Linked DNA regions of Homo sapiens: region 1 is linked to region 2. Evidence: promoter capture Hi-C in 16 types of primary human blood cells and fetal thymus (Javierre and others, 2016). All regions are on one chromosome and are shown on one strand. The core of a region is centred on a gene start or on the middle of the fragment in contact, and the rest is flanking DNA. Distances in the headings are between cores, read along the strand shown. Region 1 holds the start of KRT6B (keratin 6B). Region 2 has its middle 19 kb from the start of KRT18.

Region 1 (3,611 bases), core at 74-2,573, 520 kb after region 2:
CCCATACAAACACACGTTGACACAAACACATATGCACAGACATGTCACCCATGGCCCAGGAAAAGCACAGGAAAATATCCAAGTAAAGATACAAGGATACACAAGGAACTGCTAACATTACTTCCTCCATAGATAGGAATTGGGTAACTGGGGAATGGCCTTGAGCTATATTATTTTGTTGTTTAGCATGTTTTACAAAAAATTTTTTAAAACATGTATCATGTATTCAATTTGTAAACATGTAAATAATTGTGCAAATAGTACTATTCAAAATTTAAATGGGCAATCTACTACATTTACTTCTAGAATGTTTAAATATAGACAGAATCTTAATAAGCTTCTAATTTTAATATGAAATATGAAGGTTAGAGTCTCATATTAAAGGAAACAATAGGGGTATGCAATTAGAAAAATCCCAAGAATGAAAAAGTACAATGAACAGTTAACCTGTTTTATTTAACAAATAAAAGTAAGAAATGAAGGGAGATTTTTAAATTTCAATGATTTAAAGGATATATCACTCAAATACAACGTTTATAGAGCTTATTTTGACTCTGATTGGGACACCAAAATATAAGAAATATATATCAAAAATAGGACTGCTTGAAGACTAAATAGACACTTGTTCATTTTAATTAGTATGTAAATTTTTAAGATATAAAAATAGTGTTTTGATTTTTTAAAGGACCTATTATTTAGATATTAATATTGAATTATTGATTGAAGACATAATATGACTTCTGGAATTTCCTTTCAAACAATCTAGAATGGAAGAGGAAATAGGGTTGAAGTATGAAAGAAATCAGGCTGGCCATGAGATGATCATCATGGAAGCAGGTGACAGGTATATACAGGCCCATTGCAGTGTTCTGCTTCTCTACCTGTTTAAAATTGCACCTAAAAGGTGAAACAATTATGGGGAAATTGTAATATTTCTGTTAAGGAATTCACAATACAGTGCCTGTGATCTCCAACAGCAAGGCTGGAAGAAAGTCAGACTGGGAAGAGGAGGGCACTCAGGGCATGTCGATAAACAGCCTAGCATGCAGAACCTTTGCTGAAGACAGTGACTAATTCCAACTTCATGAATTGAGAATACTCTTATTGTGCTGAGATCTCAAGTCAAAGCTGGAGGCAGGAACATTTTGCCTGACTAAAGGAAGCGAAAAATGCAATCTCGGTATTTCATAACTTTTGTAATAATGCAGGTGTGATCTCACTATTTGTAAAGCCCAGCCCTTCCCAACCTGCAAGCTCACCTTCCAGGACTGGGCCCAGCCCATGCTCTCCATATATAAGCTGCTACTGGAGTCCGATTCCTCGTCCTGCTTCTCCTCCCTCTCGCCTCCAGCCTCTCACACTCTCCTAAGCCCTCTCATCTCCTGGAACCATGGCCAGCACATCCACCACCATCAGGAGCCACAGCAGCAGCCGCCGGGGTTTCAGTGCCAACTCAGCCAGGCTCCCTGGGGTCAGCCGCTCTGGCTTCAGCAGCATCTCCGTGTCCCGCTCCAGGGGCAGTGGTGGCCTGGGTGGCGCATGTGGAGGAGCTGGCTTTGGCAGCCGCAGTCTGTATGGCCTGGGGGGCTCCAAGAGGATCTCCATTGGAGGGGGCAGCTGTGCCATCAGTGGCGGCTATGGCAGCAGAGCCGGAGGCAGCTATGGCTTTGGTGGCGCCGGGAGTGGATTTGGTTTCGGTGGTGGAGCCGGCATTGGCTTTGGTCTGGGTGGTGGAGCCGGCCTTGCTGGTGGCTTTGGGGGCCCTGGCTTCCCTGTGTGCCCCCCTGGAGGCATCCAAGAGGTCACTGTCAACCAGAGTCTCCTGACTCCCCTCAACCTGCAAATTGACCCCGCCATCCAGCGGGTGCGGGCCGAGGAGCGTGAGCAGATCAAGACCCTCAACAACAAGTTTGCCTCCTTCATCGACAAGGTGAGCCAGTGCCATGCCCTCCATCGGGCACTTCAGGGTCCCCAGACCAGAAGAGCAACACCTTCCTGCCGGAGAGACCCTAGGAGGGAGGGAGAAGGGGACTCAGCCCAGCTCTGCAGAGAGTGCAGGTGGCTCTCGGTGCACAGGAGGCAGCACAGATGGGCATCACTCCCCCATGGGATATCTGGAGTGGCCCTCACTCCTGCCTAGGGAGAGCCATAACTTTTCATAACCCTGAAGCACAGATGAGGCCATCAGAGAGTGGAGTAGGTTAATTCTCCCCTCTGAAGTGTTTAAGAGATTACAAAGCAAATGCCAGGAGTATATGGGCTGGTAAATTACACTCTGGGGTCTGGGTAAGAGGAAAAAGATTTAGAAAGAAAAGGAAAAGATAATCTGGCTGGATTAAGAAAAAAAGGGACATAGAAACAACTGTAAAACATGGATAAATGCTAATTAATTTTAAAAACAGAGAATGACCATAACATCAGAATATTTGAGAGGAGACACTAAATGGGAAAGTAGACTGAAATGTAATCATGAGTCAACATCTAATATCCCTCCTAACTAAGATCCTCTCGGTAAAAAAAACTGTGTACAATATATCAGGTAATTAGTATTTTTAAACTAGATTTGTGATTGTGCTTGGAAAAAGAAAAGAAGAAATGTTGAAACTCACTGATGATCAATAGCTTACAGTGCGAGAACACCTCAGTGGTCCGTGGGACAATTTCTCTAGTGAGACTGGTGGGGTGCAAAGGAGAAGGAGTTGGGGGAGCAGAGCTCAGCCTGAGCCTCTCTACATGCACTGTAGTAGCCCAGCACCATGGGGACCTCCCAGACCTCCAGGAAACTGGATACCAGACACTTTCTCTGCCTTCCTTTTCCTGGAAAATGACCATTTTGCTTCCCCTCCAGGTGCGGTTCCTAGAGCAGCAGAACAAGGTTCTGGACACCAAGTGGACCCTGCTGCAGGAGCAGGGCACCAAGACTGTGAGGCAGAACCTGGAGCCGTTGTTCGAGCAGTACATCAACAACCTCAGGAGGCAGCTGGACAACATCGTGGGGGAACGGGGTCGTCTGGACTCGGAGCTGAGAAACATGCAGGACCTGGTGGAGGACCTCAAGAACAAGTGAGGACTCCATTTCCTGCAGCACACACTTCAAGACTATTGGGTGACCAGGGCCAGATGTGTGTAGGATTCCTAACAACCCATGTCCATGGAAATGAAAAGCACAAATTAGTCCCTAGGAGCAAACCTGCAAGAACCACAGATGGTTATGGGAGGATGGGGAGATTAAAGAAATGGCAAATTTAGTAGTAGCAAAATTCATCTCTTTGGCTCTCTGTGGCAGGAAAGCTCAATTAGAATATATTCCATTCAGGAAAATGTTGAATCCCAAGCTGCTTTTCTGTTTCATCCTACCCACTGGCTCAAATGTGTCCCATGCCTTTCTTCCTGTAGATATGAGGATGAAATCAACAAGCGCACAGCAGCAGAGAATGAATTTGTGACTCTGAAGAAGGTGAGCAGATGAAGCCAGGGGTTCAAATTCATTTAGAAGGAGAGAAGTGGCTCTGTGTCCTCGCTCCCCTGGGAGAGGAGAATTGGCAGGAGGACTAGAAGATGGGTAGATTGGAAAGGTGAGCTCAGGCAACTCCAGGTTGTTGGCTCTTTCC
Region 2 (4,132 bases), core at 859-3,358:
AAAGTGGGCAGTAGGCCTTTGAGACCCCGACTGGACAGAGCCACACTCTTCAGGCAGGATGCTGTCTCCTTATCTAGGCTTGGGGTCTTGGGGCAGCCGGAGGGTTGGCATCCTTGATTATAGCCACAGGGATGAGACCTTTTTGTTTTGTGCTTTGGCTCAGCTCAGCCCCACTGCATGCCTGGCTGCTCCCACCAGCTCAAGATTATCTCTCTGGTGACGTGCTGCCTGGGGCTTGGCATGTACCCACCCCTGCGATCTTGCCCCTGCTGCAGCCAAGAGCAAAGTTTCAGTCTCTGGGACCCCAGCCAGACAACTCAAGGAGAGCCAATGAACTTGTATTTATGCAGTACCTACTAGCTGCCAGGCATGCAGCCAAGCCTTGGGGACTTTGTTCTCATTATTTTCTCACCTTTCCCACTGCACAAGTCTTAGCATCTCTCAGGTTTCACTTCTGCCACAAATCATGGCCATCATCCTCCCCGTGAACACCTGCAGCATTTACTGCCATGACATTCCTTGGCTTTGAATTAACCTCGTGACCTTTCTTGTATCTTTATGTTCTTAGGGCCGAACCTGAGGGTGGGGACCTGGGTCTAAGCTGTCCCACTGGTGGGCACCTTCCCTTCCTTTCCTGAACATTTTTGGAATGTAGGAGTGACCCCAGAGGAGGATTACAAAGCCCTTCTTCAAAGGAGAGGTTGAAAGTGGTGCCCGGGTTCTATAAACATTTGCACTGAGCATTCCTAAATGACAGGGAGATTTATAGTTTGAGTGCCTTCCCATTACGAAGACTGTTTAAGTGACTTGGGAAAGTTTCTTTAAAAAGAAAAAAAAATGGAGCAGATTAAGATGAGATTTTATTTTTCTTTTTTTCCTTAAAAAGAAAAAAAGGCTAGGCGAGGTGGCTCATGTCTGTAATCCAAAGGCTAGGTGAGGTGGCTCATGTCTGTAATCCCAGAACTTTGGGAGGCCGAGGTAGGTGGATCATTTGAGGTCAGGCGTTTGAGACCAGCTTGGCCAACGTGGTGAAATCCTTGTCTCTACTAAAAATACGAAAATTAGCTGGGCGTGGTGGTGCACACCTGTAATCCCAGCTACTGGAGAGGCTGAGGCGGGAGAATCGCTTGAATCTGGGAGGTGGAGGTTGCAGTGAGCTGAGAAGCCGAGACCACGCCACTACACTCCAGCCTGGGTGACAGAGTAAGACTCCGTCTCAAAAAAAAAAAAAAAAACAAATTCTTCCTGGGCTTTCTTAAAGCTGGGGTGTGTGTGAAGCGAAGCTGAGGAAGTTCAATTGTTCTCCCACTAAGTTCTCTTTCCTGGAACAAAGAGGACCTGCAAAGAGAGTGAGAGGACTGCTGGCATCTTGAAATATTCTTCTACTCTCCTTTGTCCTCTTTTCCTTGGGTGAGGCATGCAGAGACTCCTCTTGGTTTGTTATTTGCTCATTTATTTGTTCATTCATTTGCTTATTCATTCAAAAGCTAGTAAGAGAAGATTGTTAAATTTGAAAATTTTGCTTCCCAGAATTAAACCATTTTAAATCAACCATGACAGCAGTATTTATACCTTGGATATTGGCAAATGCTATAGGTTATTAAATAAAATAAAATAACATTTTATTTACAATTTAATAAAAATTACAATTTCAAATTTTTGTCTTTAAAAAAGAAAATAACAACCTGCTGTTTATGTGTTGGAATTGTGTTATGTATCAGGGCATAAGAGTGAACAAGATAGTCCAGTCTCTGCTCAAAGGGAGCTTACAGTCTGGTGCTGCACTGTCCTGTCCAATCTGGTAGCCATTAGCTACTAGCTACTGCTGTGGTTATTAATTTATTTTTTAAAGTTTTTAATTTTGGCTGAGTCTGGTGGCTCATGCCTGTAATCCCAGCGCTTTGGGAGGCCGAGGCAGGTGGATCACCTGAGGTTAGGAGTTCGAGACCAGTCTGGCCAACATGGCGAAACCCCGTCTCTACTCCAAATCCAAAAAAAAAAAAAAAAAAAAAAAATTAGCCAGGTGTGGTGGTGGGCGCCTGTAATCCCAACTACTCGGAAGACTGAGGCAGGAGAATCACTTGAACCTGGGAGGCGGAGGTTGCAGTGAGCCGAGATTGAGCCAGTGCACTCCAGCCTGGGCAACAAGAGTGAAACTCTGTCTCAAAAAAAAAAAAGTTTTTAATTTTTGTGGGTACCCAGTATGTGTATCTATTTTAGGGTACACGAGATATTTTGATACAGGCATACAATGCATAATAATCTCATCAGGGCATCCATCACTTCAAGCATTTATCCTTTATGTTACAAACAATCCAATTATACTCTTTTAGTTATTTTTAAATGTACAATAATTTATTTTTTTTGAGACGGAGTCTTGCTCCATTGCCCAGGCTGGAGTGCAATGGCATGATCTTGGCTCACTGCAACCTCTGCCTCTCGGGTTCAAGCAATTCCCCTGCCTCAGCCTCCCGAGTAGCTGGGATTACAGGCATGCACCACCATGCCTGGCTAATTTTTGTATTTTTAGTAGAGACGGGGTTTTACCATGTTGGTCAGGCACGTCTTGAACTCCTGTCCTTGTGATCTGCCCGCCTCAGCCTTCCAAAGTGCTGGGATTACAGGCATGAGCCACTGCACCCAGCCTTAGGCTGGTGCTTTTTAAACTTTTTTTGCTTCTGGGGAGTGGGTGATAGGGAAAGTTCTGCCAGCCTGGGAGGGGCCCACTAGAGCCTGCTGCTCCAGTGTGGATTGTGGGGAGAGGAAAAGGAACTGTGTGCTTTGGGCCCAGATCACTGGAGTGCCCTGAGTCTCTGAGAAGTTTACCCTACATCCCTCCTGTGGCAGCACCATCCACTTCACCAGGATCTGACCAGGGCCTTCAGGGGGACACAGCCTCCCCGGATCTGAGCATCACTATCATTCTAATTCCTTGGGCTGTTTCTGTGTAGATAATTATTTTCCAGCTCATTCAGGCAGGTGAGGTTGAGGCCAGCAGTGCAGCTAAATCCTTACACCGTGACTGGGGCTGCTTTTATACAGGTTAGGGGAAGAATAATCACTTATGGCTGAAATCTAATGGAAGAGGGAGTTCTGTGTAACTCTAGTGGGCAGAGCTGAGTTTAGAAGGTTAGTAGGAGGCAGATTTCAGCCCAGTAGAAGGAACAATAATGTTCCAGTAATTATACAATTATTATCCAACAGGGGCTATACTGTCATAAATTCTTCAAACGGAGGCCAGATGTTAGGAAGGCCACAAAGAGGATTCCTACTGGGAGAGGCCAAACTTGAACCATCTGTTTATTTATTTTATTTTATTTATTTATTTTTTTGAGAATGGAGTTTCACTCTTGTCACCCAGGCTGGAGTGCAATGGCACAAACTTGGCTCACTGCAACCTCCGCCTCCCGGGTTCAGGTGATTCTTTTGCCTCAGCCTCCCAAGTAGCTAGGATTACAGGCATGCACCACCACGCCTGGCTAATTTTGTATTTTTAGTAGAGACGGGGTTTCTCTATGTTGGTCAGGCTGGTCTCGAACTCTTGACCTCAGGTGATCCACCCACCTCGGCCTCCCAAAGTGCTGGGATCAGAGGTGTGAGCCACCACACCGAGCTGGTAAGTATATTTTTATTTTTATTACTATTTTTTTTGAGACAGAGTCTTGCTCTGTTGCCCAAGGCTGGAGTGCAATGGCAAGATTTCAGCTCACTGCAAACTCCGCCTCCCAGGTTCAAGCAATTCTTCTGCCTCAACCTCCCAAGTAGCTGGGAATACAGGCGCATGCCACCACGCCTGGCTATTTTTTTTTTTTTTTTGTATTTTTAGTAGAGACAGGGTTTCACCATATTGGCCAGGCTGGTCTTGAACTCGTGACCTCGTGATCCGCCCGCCTCAGCCTCCCAAAGTGTTGGGATTACAGGCGTGAGCCACCGCGCTGGGAGGTGTATTTTTAAACTTAGAAAAAACGGCCCAACTGTTTTCCAAAGTAGTTGTACACGTTTTGTATTCCCACCAGCAACATATGAGGGTTTCATTGCTCTGCATTCTACTTATTTATTTATTTATCTTTGTGACAAGATCTCACTCTGTCACCCAGGCTGGAGTGCAGTGGTGCAAACATGGGTCACTGCA

What was found. Contacts are between HindIII fragments. The CHiCAGO score rates a contact against its expected background, and 5 or more counts as called.
Region 1: the fragment with the promoter of KRT6B here is called in contact with a fragment that was not itself captured in region 2 in 2 of 17 cell types (M2 macrophages and M0 macrophages); the score reaches 5.8 in M2 macrophages.

What each region holds. Positions count from the first base shown.
Region 1 is chr12:52,449,858-52,453,468 of GRCh38, reverse strand. It overlaps KRT6B (keratin 6B), which reads left to right and starts at 1,323. Exons shown (of 9, transcript NM_005555.4): 1 at 1,323-1,930; 2 at 2,849-3,063; 3 at 3,397-3,457. The coding sequence starts at 1,391. The HindIII fragment of the contact is 8,192 bases long and covers 340-3,611 here.
Region 2 is chr12:52,966,538-52,970,669 of GRCh38, reverse strand. No RefSeq gene overlaps it. Among named protein-coding and RNA genes, the nearest start is that of KRT18, 19 kb to the right of the region's middle. The HindIII fragment of the contact is 7,174 bases long and covers 1-4,132 here.